Regions from separate parts of the Homo sapiens genome. Here region 2 is linked to region 1. Evidence: promoter capture Hi-C in 16 types of primary human blood cells and fetal thymus (Javierre and others, 2016). All regions are on one chromosome and are shown on one strand. Each heading gives the region's core, a stretch centred on a gene start or on the middle of the fragment in contact. The rest is flanking DNA. Distances are from core to core; before and after follow the strand shown.

What was found. The method cuts DNA at HindIII sites, captures the fragments that hold promoters and counts their contacts. A CHiCAGO score of 5 or more calls a contact.
Region 2: a fragment that was not itself captured here is called in contact with the fragment with the promoter of WNK1 in region 1 in 7 of 17 cell types (activated CD4 T cells, M2 macrophages, non-activated CD4 T cells and 4 more); the score reaches 10.0 in activated CD4 T cells.

What each region holds. Positions count from the first base shown.
Region 1 is chr12:750,222-756,726 of GRCh38, forward strand. It overlaps WNK1 (WNK lysine deficient protein kinase 1), which reads left to right and starts at 2,358. Exons shown (of 28, transcript NM_018979.4): 1 at 2,358-4,103. The coding sequence starts at 3,345. RefSeq lists enhancers at 1,414-1,513, 1,564-1,613, 2,371-3,089, 3,090-3,808 and silencers at 2,254-2,403, 2,484-2,863, 2,874-3,253. The HindIII fragment of the contact is 8,297 bases long and covers 1-6,161 here.
Region 2 is chr12:816,030-822,922 of GRCh38, forward strand. All of the region lies in intron 2 of WNK1 (WNK lysine deficient protein kinase 1), which reads left to right. Among named protein-coding and RNA genes, the nearest start is that of WNK1, 67 kb to the left of the region's middle. The HindIII fragment of the contact is 3,932 bases long and covers 976-4,907 here.

The sequences.
Region 1 (6,505 bases), core at 1,108-3,607:
GAGCTGGGATCAAGCCACTGTACTGCAGCCTGGGCGACAGAGTGAGCCTCTCTCAAAACAAAACAAAACAAAACAAAAACTGAGCAAAAAAGTGTTTGTTAGTAAAATACGCACACTAAATAATATAACCTTTAAATCTAATCATTGTACATAATAAGATTATATTCAACTTAAAATTGTATCTGTTTTCATTGTAAAGCTAATATTACACAAGTGGGAAAAGCTGTCTCCTAGGCAAGTGTGGTTTTAAGTCAACAGTTAATTAAATTACTTACAATGAATTTAGTTGTTCCTGGTTGAAAAGACATGTTGATAGGGCATGGTGATTATCAAGGGACTTGTGTCCAATGCAGTGTGGCCAAAGTTTCAGGGCTCAGTAAACAGGAACAGGCAATAATAAAATCCTTTAACAACCACTCACACAAAAATATCCTAATTTTTTCATGGTGCCAAAAGGGAACATTGTGATTTACTGATCTTCTTTTAACTTGCCAATTTGTAATTAGCTGCCTTATGTTTAAAATCAGACTATTTTTCCTAGTGAAGCAACAATTGGGTAAGTTTTATTTTACTCAAAAGTACAATAAAAATGTATTTTACAGCCATTTCTTCCCTTGCTTACATTAGGTTTACGGTTAGAAAAACACTCTTAATTCCATTTGCCATAATGAGATTATTTACCATTACCAATAGCAAACGAATGAAAGATACATTTTCTAAAGCAATGGAACACTAATATTTTAGTACTCTAGTTGTCCCTGCTGAATCGGCATTTTAAAATGTTCGTAACCTGTCAGCTTCATGAAACCTAACGATCATTGGTTTAAAACATTTTTGTAAACTTGAAAGTGTAGCTTGTGATAAACAACAAAAAAAGAAAGAAAAGAAAAATAGGGTTAAGTATTTTACGTATCAGATGAATTAACATGAACTGCAGGGCAAGACTTCTGTAGGTGGAGCTCATCCGATAACTGTGCTAAGGAACCTCCTGCCGAGTTCCTTGCTAGCTGCTCGCTCGCAGCGTGGTCCTCGGCCCCGACGCGCGCTTTCGAGCTTGTTCCGCAGCGGGCGCTGAAGAGAGGCGGCCGCGTCCGGACGCTCTGATGCGGTTGCGTACGTTTTCAGCGCTTCCCGCTCTCCACCGGTTGGACTGAGGCTTTTAAACTGCAGTCTGCTCCCGAGTCCGGCTTCCTACTCGGTCTGGTGCCCCCTGGTGCTCGTCCCCTCCACATCTTGAGTAGTTGCGAAGAGCACAGGGGTCCAGGCAGACAAGGATGCTTTCAAGAAAAACATTCCATGGCGGCAAGCCGCATGGATCCACATTTCCCGGGCCCAGAGCCTTTGTAGACATTGCATGTGGACATTCAGGAGCTCTAGAGAAAGAGGGGGTGTTGTTTCACGAAGCCACCAGCAGAAGAAAGGTGGAAAATAAGTTTCAACCAACTACAAAGGCAGAAGTCAGCCCAGCCCCCCAAGTGTGGTCAAAGACCCATAGATCCGTAGACCTTATCTTTTCTTGAATCCACCGCTCCCCCAACCCCCCTTTTATTATTTTTCAGACAAAGCAAAGATAGAGTTCACTAGGATCCCCGATTTCAGTAAGGCAGCCCTTTTTTGAGAGCCAGAATATCCGTCTCGGCCGGGAGCTGAGAATGTGGCCTTAATTGATGAGGGGAGGAGGATGGAAGGTAATCCTCCGTGTCTCCTCCTCCAATCCGTTTAATCAATATTAATTTCATGCACAATCTTCACAAAGTTTCTTTTCCCCTCCTCCGACTCAGAGCTCAGGCTCCGGTTATCCTGCTTTGCCCTTCCCTTCCACCCTCACAGCCCTGCAGTCACTCAACACTACTGAGGCTCTCTCCATTAAAGATGAACAACAGATCATTTTTCATTGCATGGCAACCCTAAGAGCTCTCTAGCTTAGCAGAGCATGATGGGAGTCTTTCCATCCCCCCCCCCACCCCCCGCCCGCTCGTTCCTCTTCTTTTTTTTTTTTTTTTCCTTCCTTTCCTTCTTCCACAATTAATCCCTAAATAATGATTTTCCTAAGCTCGCGCGGACTTCGGGATGGGGTTGAGCGACCCGTGATGACGCTCCCATCAGCCTTTCAGAAGGGACGGTTTCCAAAGAAAACTACAACTCCCACGAGGCATTAGGCTACAGCAACCGCAAGGCATCACGGAAGTCGTAGGCACTTTTCTTCTAGGTCCCGTTCATCCCCGCCAACCCGTAAACTATAAGTCCCAGGGTGCCTCGGGGCTAGCACGCCTGCGCAAAAGCCCCGGAGCGAGTTGGGGGGTGGGGCTGCTCCGGGCGGCGGGGGGCGGGATCCGAGCGGGCTGTGTGGAGGCTTCAGACTCCCGGCGCCATTTAGCGCGGAGAGTTTCCCGGGTGGACGCGGCTCCTCTCTCGGCCACTCCGCACCCCCATCTTCGGTGACAGAAGGCGCCTGGTGGGGGTGGCTGCTCTTTTCTCTCCCTGTTCCCCCTCACCCAGTCCTCTAGGTCTCCTCTCCTCTTGCCTCAGAGAAGCAGCGGAGCTCGGGCCCCGCGGTGAGCGGCCCTCCCCTCCCCGCCGTTCCCTCCTCCGTCAGCCCCCGGCACCGGCCCGGGAGGAGACGGGTTTGCCAGGCCTGGGGCGGGCGGGGAGGCCTCGGGGAAGGGGGGGCCCGCTCCTCAGGCGCCGAGGCTCCGAGGCTCCGGCCCTTCGCCTCTGGGCGATGGGCGACCTGTGAGGCCGGTCCCCATCGCTGGGGGCGCGTGTGGGAGGAGGCGGCCGCCCGAGTGACCGGGAGCCGGGCCGCGGCCTTCCCTCGCCCGCCTCGGCCCCTCCCACTCCTCTGCCCCGGGGCCGCCACCGCCCGGGCGTCGGACCTGGTCCCGTGCTCGCGGTGCCGCCGCCCTCTGGGCCTAGCCCGCCCAGCTCGGCGAGCGGCGGCAGTGGGAGCCGCGTCCGCCGCATCCGCCTCGACTCGGTGCCGGCCCCTGGCCCTCCCCTCATGACTGCGGCGCCTCTGCTGCCACCGCCCGCCCGGCCGCCGCTCGCCGCAGGATGGATGCGGACCGTGCGGCGCTAACCCCCGTGGCTCAGCTCCCGAATCGCCCGCCTTCGAGCCCTCCTCGTGAGCCGCAGCAGCCTCGGTGCCAGCCCCCGCCGCAGCTGGGCCCAGCGGTCCGCCTGTCCCTCGTTGCGGCTTGTCGGTGCTGAGTGAGGCGTCGTCCGGGTCGGCGCGAACCCGCCCGGCCGCGGTTCCCTGCAGACCTCTGCGCGGGCGGCTCGGCCCTTCACGCCCTTTTCGTTCACGAATCCGAGCCCGCTCGCCTCTCTCCAGCGAACCGACCATGTCTGGCGGCGCCGCAGAGAAGCAGAGCAGCACTCCCGGTTCCCTGTTCCTCTCGCCGCCGGCTCCTGCCCCCAAGAATGGCTCCAGCTCCGATTCCTCCGTGGGGGAGAAACTGGGAGCCGCGGCCGCCGACGCTGTGACCGGCAGGACCGAGGAGTACAGGCGCCGCCGCCACACTATGGACAAGGACAGCCGTGGGGCGGCCGCGACCACTACCACCACTGAGCACCGCTTCTTCCGCCGGAGCGTCATCTGTGACTCCAATGCCACTGCACTGGAGCTTCCCGGCCTTCCTCTTTCCCTGCCCCAGCCCAGCATCCCCGCGGCTGTCCCGCAGAGTGCTCCACCGGAGCCCCACCGGGAAGAGACCGTGACCGCCACCGCCACTTCCCAGGTAGCCCAGCAGCCTCCAGCCGCTGCCGCCCCTGGGGAACAGGCCGTCGCGGGCCCTGCCCCCTCGACTGTCCCCAGCAGTACCAGCAAAGACCGCCCAGTGTCCCAGCCTAGCCTTGTGGGGAGCAAAGAGGAGCCGCCGCCGGCGAGAAGTGGCAGCGGCGGCGGCAGCGCCAAGGAGCCACAGGAGGAACGGAGCCAGCAGCAGGATGATATCGAAGAGCTGGAGACCAAGGCCGTGGGAATGTCTAACGATGGCCGCTTTCTCAAGTTTGACATCGAAATCGGCAGAGGCTCCTTTAAGACGGTCTACAAAGGTCTGGACACTGAAACCACCGTGGAAGTCGCCTGGTGTGAACTGCAGGTAAAGCCCCACCTACTTTATTTGACGGTCCTTTGGATCCCAAATTTGGCTCGGCGAAGCCAGTTGATCGAGTTCACCCTTCACTTGGCATTCTCTGTTGGACTCCGAGTGGGACGGGGAGGCCAACTTTTGAAAGGGGCTGAAATTAGGAGAATGTGGAGCATGTGCCTAGGTGTTGGGATAGGATAAGAATTATTGGTAGCCAGAGGGATTTGCTACCGGGCAGCGGTGGTGAAGGTCATCTTAGTACAAACGAATTGTCTCCTGGTTTAGAGTCTGGCAGGAAACTTGGAATGAGTGGGGAAGTTGAAAGTACAGATGCTTCTTCTTCTGTGCATTTCAATCTCATCAAAGGCTCTGCAGTGATGAGCTGCGTCTGGGTGTAGAAGCGTGTTTTCATTCCTGAGATCAGGCTGTTCTTTTTAAATGAGAACAACCTTGTACCTTTGGATGTATTTTGCTTGATGGTTGCACAGGCATTTAGTATAAAATAATTATTAAAAAAAGACTCTTCTCTGCCCCTTTTGGATGTTTGATGTTGTTCTACCTAATGATGCTTAAGCCTTACAGTAGCAGCATTGCTCTGACGTTCATTAAACTAATGTCTTTCAGCCCATTCACTATACAGCGAATAGTATAGGAGCCCATGCAAAATTGTGTAAGTGCTTTGAGAGTCGTAATGTCATCATCATTGTTTTAATCTTATAAAATATCTTTAAGCTGAACTTTCCCAAGAGTCCGAAGGAGTCGCAGCACTTCCTTTTTTAACCTCTAGTGGTGTAAATAATGGTGTGTCATTCCGGTTGACTAGTACATTCTAGGTTTAAACAGCTGAGTTTGGGCTACTTGTTGCTTGACTTACTGAAGCAGCTTGCTTAAATATTGCCCTGATTGGGCATAGGTGAACATAGGTTATTAGTAGGAGCAGGTTTATGCTGAAGGAAGTCAGCCACATTATGCATGCATAAAAATTGCCATTATTGATATAGTAATCTTGCCAAGAATATAGACCAGCCTGATACAGGATATGAAAATAACTGAATGATCTTGGAACTTATTTTATCCATGAACTAATATGTTAACACGTAACCCTTTGAATGTCAGGTTCCAAATAACTAAGGCCATATCAAATGTGAAATTAACACAGCATGTGGAAGTAAACTTAAAAACTAAGAAGTTCTTTACAAACATAATCATTTCTTAACTTTTACAGTTAATGATGTAGAACTTCTAAGGTAGTGTGAAATTAAAACTACTCATTAATTTTATAGTATTTTAGAATTGAAAAGGTGACAGATCTTTAAAAAAAAAAAACCTCGTCAAACGAAAACTGTTCATTTTGGTCAGTCATATTCAAAAAACTTAGTCTGGGCCAGGCACGGTGGCTCACGCCTGTAATCCCAGCACTTTGGGAGGCCAAGGCGGGTGGATCACGGGGTTAGGAGTTCGAGACCAGCCTGACCAACATGGGGAAACCCCGACTCTACTAAAAATACAAAAATTAGCCGGGTATGGTGGCGCGCGCCTGTAATTCCAACTACTCGGGAGGCTGAGGCAGGAGAATATCTTGAACCCAGCAGGTGGAGGTTGCAGTGAGCGGAGATCGCACCATCGCACTGCAGCGTGGTGACAGAGCGAGACTCCGTCTCAAAAACAAACAAAAACAACAACAACAAAAAAACTTATGTCCGATTCCTTTTGGTTTACAGGCAGAAATTTACAGGTAGACACATTTCTTTCTTGTACTATCGATGCTTATTGATACTGATGCTGGAATTTTATTCTTCCATTATAGTTTTATATTTGAATAGGTGCTTTTTAACAATTTTGTTTTCCTTAACCGGTTACCTTACTTTTTTAAGACTGGACCCAATTACTTGTTGAGCACTTTATGAATTAATTTTGTTAGTTTTAATTATTTCACTTCTGAGACTTCTTAGCATGTGATGTGTGTTTTCCTTTTATCACCTGGAATTTTCTGATACTTTATTATCTTGGAACTGATAATACAGTGAAAAAAACTTAATTTGTCTAATGTCACGATAAAAACTTTGTCCAAGCTTCTCAGGTTTTCTTAGAACTCGTAACTTTTTGGATTTTTAATTCTCTATCTAGGCATGGGCATTACCAAACTAAAGAAAATCTTACATCGCATATTATTTTTGAGTCATTTCAGGATTTGGCTGCAGAACTAGATGAATCCTAGCTTATTAAGTGGTACCTGGTTTAGAAACTTCCATGTTATTTGTCTGTGCTTCTGTAATTTTTTGTTTTGATTTTGAAAAGATTATCTTACCTGAAAAATCCTTTATAGCAGTAGTTAGGCAGTATTTTTGGTTTTTTGACCAGGACACTTGCACTACATGCCTAATAAAATATTCAGTGGGTCAGTGTTTGAACTT
Region 2 (6,893 bases), core at 1,692-4,191, 66 kb after region 1:
GTTTTAATGTCCATGCAAGGACAGAAAGCCTTAGAACTAGGTAGAGAGGGGAGCTAGAACTTAGCCTGTGTCAAAAAACTGAACTATCCGTGAAAAGAGAGACCTCAGTGCTCTAGCCAGTGAAAGCTGCAAGGAATTTTACCTGTGTGCAGAAGACTGTGGATAAGAGGGGAGACCTATGAAAAATAGAAATTCACATCAAATGCTACCAGTGTTCTTAATTATTCTGTAAACTAATCTTTTCTTTTTCTTTTTTTGGAGACAGGGTCTCACTCGGTTGCCCAGGACAGAGTGCAGCAGCACAATCATAGCTCACTGCAGCCTCAAACTCCTGGGCTCAGGGAATCCTTCCACCTCAGCCTCCCCACTACCTGGGACTATAGTTGCTCACCACCATACCTGTCTAATAAAAAAACAATTTTTTTTTTTTTAGTAGAGACAGTGTCTATTTTGTTGCCCAGGCTGCTCTCAAACTCCTGAGCTCATCCTGATTTGGCCTCATCCCGATTTGACCTCCCAAACTGCTGGGATTACAAGCATGAGCCACGGTGCCCAGCCTGTTTGGTATTCTTCCATCTCATATGTAGATGGCGCTATAACATAAATTTGTACCATCTACTTGGTACAGGAATCCCAAACCGAAGAACATACATGATAATTGATCAGGAACGGAAAGAAAACTCCCGGGGACATTTTCACAGTTCCTTGGTCAGTGTCCAGAGGCAAAACTGTTTCCAAAGAAGATGACCTCACAATTAAATTACAAATCACACCAATGAAGGTGAATAGACACAACCAGAAAATAGCACTGCAACAATTAAGGATATCATGGACAAGTCTGAAAGTGATTACAAACAATTATTTACATAATGATGTCAGTAAAGATATTTGTAAGTGTATATGAAGTGTATAAAGAGAAAAGAAGGAATTGAAGGAAAAAGACACCAAAGAAAAAAAAGACAGGCATAATTTAAAAGCTTCTGAAGAACTTCTAGAAATAAGAACATTAAAATTCAAACATAAATGGTCTAACGGTTAAACAGCAGACTGAATTGAATTGACAGGAATATTAACTACGAAGAAATGAGCAACAGAACACACAAAAAAGACAGAAAATATTTAAAGAGGATGACATAGTAGTGAGAAGACCCAGATAGATTTAATTATCTAAAAGGGGTTTCCCTGTAGTCCTAGCTACTCTGGAGGCTGAGGCAGAGAATCACTTGAGCCCAGGAGGTGGAGGTTGCAATGAGCCGAGATCGTGCCTCTGCACTCCAGCCTGGGTGACAGAGCGAGACTCCATCTCAAAAATAAAAATGAAAAAGTAGAGAGAATGAGAAAAAGAAAAATTTCAGAATTTAAGAATTCTGATTGAGAATGTATACAGATTCCTAAGCAAGTAGATTGAAAACATTCATATTCATTTCTGGAAGAATGGATAACTAGGACCATTGGCAGCATTTGGAGAGGCAGATTGGGAAGGAATGGGAATTAATTCCAAAATGCGTGCTTTTTGGACCTTTCGAGTTTCTACCTTTGTTCTCTATGTATATTTACATTGAAACAGATAAAACACCCATAGCTGAAAAATAAGATGGGAATGTATGAGTCAGAAAATTTGGATTAAGGCCAGGCGTGGTAGTTCACACCTGTAATCCCAGCACTTTGAGAGGCTGAGGCGGATGGATCACCTGAGGTCAGGATCACCTGAGGTCAGTTCGAAACCAGCCTGTCCAACATGGTGAAACCCCATCTCTACTAAAAATACGAAAAATTAGCTGGGCATGATGGCGGGCGCCTGTAATCCCAGCTACCCGGGAGGCTGAGGCAAGAGAATCGCTTGACCCCGGAAGTGGAGGTTGCAGTGAGCCGAGATTGTGCCACTGCACTCTAGCCTGGGTGACAGAGTGAGACTCCATCTCAAAAAAAGAAAAAGAAAAAAAATTTGGATTAAAAGTTGAGATAAATTTAGATGTATTTTTTTAAATAGACATGAAATTCAAATATCATACAATTAACATTTTAGAAAGTACAATTCAGTGGCACTTAGTACATTCACAATGTTTTGTAAGTACCACATCTATCAAGTTACTCAACATTTTAATCACCTCAGAACACTCTGTGCCCATTAAGCAGTTACTCTGCATTTCCCTTCCTCCAGCCAGGCAGCGTATTTTTTCTTTAATTGCACATTATCTAAGTTCTTTTTCTTTTTACAATTAAAAAGAAATTTTCAGTTTCTGAGCTTCAGAGGCTTATGCCAACAGGAGGGTTTATTAAGTAGAAAGAGCATTAGACTTGCAGTAGAAGTTGTGACTGCTCCCACCGCTGCCTCTGACCAACTGTGATTTTGGGCAAATAGCTAACCTTATTTGGGCTTCAGTTCCCCATGTGTATGTAAAACAAGTGGTTGGACTGCCTGATCTCTGGGACCAGCCATTCGTGGATGGGATTTTTTTATTGTAAAAAACATAACAAAATTTACCATCTTAACCATTTTTAAGTGTATAGTTCAGTAGTGTTAATACAAACACATTTCTGTGCAATTTCTAGAATGCTTTTCATGTCACAAACTCTATGCCCGTGGAACAATTTCCCATTTCTCCCAACCCTCAGCTCCTGACAACTACCAACTTTTTACCATCTCTATGGATTTATCTAATCAGGATATGTCCTATAAATAGACTCAAAGTATGTTATGGATCCTTGTGTTTGGCGTCTTTCACTTAGCATGGTGTTTTCGAGGATCATCGTGATTGCACGCATCAGTACTTCATCCCCTTTTATGACTGAATAACATTCCATTGCATGGAAATATCACAGTTTGTTTATTTATCCATTGATGAACATTTGGGCTGTATCCACCTTTTGGCTATTATGAGTACTGCTGCTATGAATATTTGTGCAGAAGTATTTTTTTGAGTACCTGTTTTCATTTCTTTTGGCTGTATACTAGGAATGGAATTGCTGAGTCATGTGGAAATCTTTGTTTAACTTTTTGAGGAGGCATCCTACCGGGAGTGACATGATACCTCATTATGGATTACATTTGCATTTCCCTAATGATTAATAATGTGGAACATCTTTTCATATGCTTATTGGCTATTTGTGTATCTTTGGAGAAATGTTTATTCAAGTTCTTTGCTCATTTTTTATTGGATTGCTTGTTTTTTTGTTGATTTATTAGAGTTCTTTATATATTTTAGAAATTAGACCCTTGTCCAGATCCATGATATGCAGATATTTTCTCCTATAGGTTGCCTTTTTTGCTCCTTGATAATGTTCTATGATGTACAGATTGAGTATAGTATCTCTTATCCGAAATGCTTGGGACCAGAAGGGCTTTGAATTTTTTCAGATATTGGAACTTTGAATTATACTTACCAGTTAAGCCTCCCAAATCTGAACTCCAAAATGTTCAAATGAGCATTTTTGTTGTGTGTCATGTTGGTGCTCAAGTTCAGATTTTCTATTGGAGCATTTTGGATCTTGGATTTTCTGATTTGGATGCTCAAGCCTGTGCCAAGTTTTAAATTTTGATAAAATCCAATGTATCTGCTTTGTCTTTTGATGGTTGGGCTTTTGGTGTCATGTAAGAGTCCATTGTCATAAATAACCAAGGGCATACAGATGTATCCCTAAGTTTTCTTCTAAGAGTTCTATCAATTTAACTTTTCTATTTAGGTTATTGTTCCATTTTTAAGTTAACTTTTGTGTATGCCGTGAGGTAGGGTCTGATTTCATTCTTTTACATGTTGATGTCCAGTTATCCCAGCATCATTTGTTGAAGAGACTTTTACCTATTGAATGGTCTTGGTACTCTTCTCAAAAATTATTTAATCATATGTATAGGTTTATTTCTGGACTCTCAATTCTATTTCATTGGCCTACATGTCTGTTCTTATGCCAGTACCGCATTGCTCTGATTACTATAGTAATTTTTGTAAATTTTGAAAATTAGAAGTGACTTCTCCAATTTTGTTCTTCTTTTTCACTATTGTTTTTGACAGTTGGGGTCTTCTTGAAATTCCATGTGAATTTGAGGATTAGATTTCCATTTCTACAAGAAAAGGCTGTTGGAATTTTGACAGAAATTGTGTTGAATCTGTAGATCATTTTGTATAGTATCACCATCTTTAACTATATTGTCTTCTAATCCGTGAACACAGGGTGTCTGTCCATTTATTTATGTCTTTTTTAATTTCTTTCAGCAATGTTTTGTAGTTTCATTATACAAGTCTTTCACATCCTTGGTTAAATTTATTCCTAGATCCTTTATATGCTATTGCAAATGAAATTGTTTTCTTAATTTCCTTTTCAGATTGTTAATTGCTGGTATATATAAATACAACTGATTTTTGTGTGTCAGTCTTGTACTTTTGTAACTTTACTGAATTCTTGTATTAGCTCATCTGTGTGTGTGTTCATTCTTTGGGGTTTTTTTTTTTTTTTTTTTTTTTTAAACAGATGGGGTTTCACTCTGTCACCGAGGCTGGAGTGCAGTGGTGCAGTCATAGCTCACTACAGACTTGAACTCTAGGCTTAAAGGATCCTCCCACCTCAGCCTCCTGAGTAGCTGGGACTCCAGGTGTGTACCACCATGCCTGGCTAATTTTTAAATTTTTCATAAAGATAGGGTCTCAATATATTGCTTATGGTAGTCACAAATTCCTGGCCTCAAGTGATCTCCCTTGCCTCTGGCTCCCAAAGTGCTGAGATTACAGGTGTGTGCCACCACACCTAGCCATTCTTTGGGATTTTTATATATTGGATCAAGTCATATGTGAATAGATAGTTCTTTCAGATTTGAATGCCTTTATTTCTTTTTCTTGTCTAACTGTTTTGGCTAGAGCTTGAATTATGATTAGCATTGATTATCCTTGTCATATTACTGATTTTAAGGAGAAAGCTTTTGGTCTTTCACCATTGAGTATATGTTAGCTGTGAGTTTTTCATAAATGTTCTTTATCATGTTGAGGAAGTTCTCTGCTATTCCTATCCTAGTTTCTTGAGTTTTTTTTTTTTTTTTTTTTTTTTTGGAAAGGTGTTAGATTTTGTCAAATGCTCTTCTGCATCAAGTTAGATAATCATGAAACCACTTCGTTCTATTAGTGTGATATATTATACTGATTAATTTTCTTATGTTGAATCACCCTTGCATTTCATAGATAAATAGTGTATAATCCTTTTACTATGCAGTTGGGTTTGGCTTGCCAATATTTTGTTGAGAGTTTTTACATCTACATTAATAACGGTGTTAGTCTATAGTTTTCTTTTGGTATCTTCAGTATCAGGGCAATACTGGCCTCACAGAATGATTTAGAAAGTGTTTCCTCCACTTTTGCTTTTTGGAAGAGTAGGATTTGTGTTAATTCTCCTGTAAATGTTTGGTAGAACTCATCAATGAAGCCATCCAGTCCTAGACTTTTCTTTGGAGATTTCTTGAAGGAATGTTCCATGTACAGTTGAGAATATATATTCACTTGTTGTTGGGCAGTGTGTTCTAAATATGTCTGTTACCTTTTGGTGGTTTATAATATTGTTCAAGTCTTCTGTTTTCTTACTCATCTTTTGTCTAGATGTTTTATCCGTTATTGAAAGTGGAATACTGAAGTCTCCAACTATTACTGTAGTGTCTACTAATTTCCTCCCTTTAATTCTGTGAATGTTTGCTTCATTATTTGGTGGCTTTATTGTTTGATGTATATAATTGTTATTTTTTATGGATTGGCCCTTTTATCAATACATCATGCTCTTCTTTATCTCTTGCATCAGTATTTTTACTTATTTTGCCTGATATTAGTTTTGCTACCTCACCCTCTTTTATTTACTATTAGCATAGAATATCATTTTTCTTTCATCCTTTGAATTTCAACCTATTTCTGTCCTTGGATCTATAATGAGTCTCTTGTAGACAGTATATAGTTGGCTTTTTTTCTTTCTTTTTAAAAAATCCATTCTGCCCATCTCTGTTTTTGGTAGGAGAGTTTATTTACATTTAATTAGTCAAAATGAATGATTTGCTATTTTGCTGTTTGTTTTCTGTATGTCTTATACCTTTTTTTTTTTTTTTTTTTTTTTTGAGACGGAGCCTCGCTCTGTTGCCCAGACTGGAGTGCAGTGGCACAGTCTCAGCTCACTGCAACCCCCGCCTCCCGGGTTCAAGCGATTCTCCTGCCTCAGCCTCCTGAGTAGCTGGGATTATAGGTACTCACCACCACGCCCAGCTAATTTTTGTATTTTTAGTAGAGACAGGGTTTCACCACGTTGGTCAGGCTGGTCTCAAACTCCTGACCTTGTGGTCCTGCCCACCTCAGCCTCCCAAAGTGCTGGGATTACAGGCGTAAGCCACCGCCCGCAGCCGTAATATATCACATTCCTAGAGACAGTCTTGTACTGTTTTTTGCTCCTTATCTCCTTCATTACTACCTTTTTAAATGTATTTATTTTTCTTTTGTAGTATACCATTTTCATTCCTTTCTCATTTCCTTTTGTGTATATATTTAGATATTTTTTCAGTGGTTACCTTGAGGATCACAATTAACATCATAAACCTCCAACAGTCTACCCTGAATTGATACCAACTTAGCTTTAATACAGCATACAAATCTCTGATCCTATACAGCCTCACTCCTCCTTCCCATTTTATGTTTTCATTGTCTCAAATTTTATGTTTATACATTGTGTACCCATTAGCATAGTTTTATAATAATTATTTTACATGCATTTGTCTTTTAAATCATGTAGGAAATAAAAGGAATTATAAACCAAAAATACATTAATACTGGTTTTAATATTTAGATGTGTGATGGACTTTACCAGAGATTTGATTTGGTTTTATGGCTTCAAGTTATTGTCTAGTGTTCTTTTATTTCCTCTAAGGATTCTCTTTA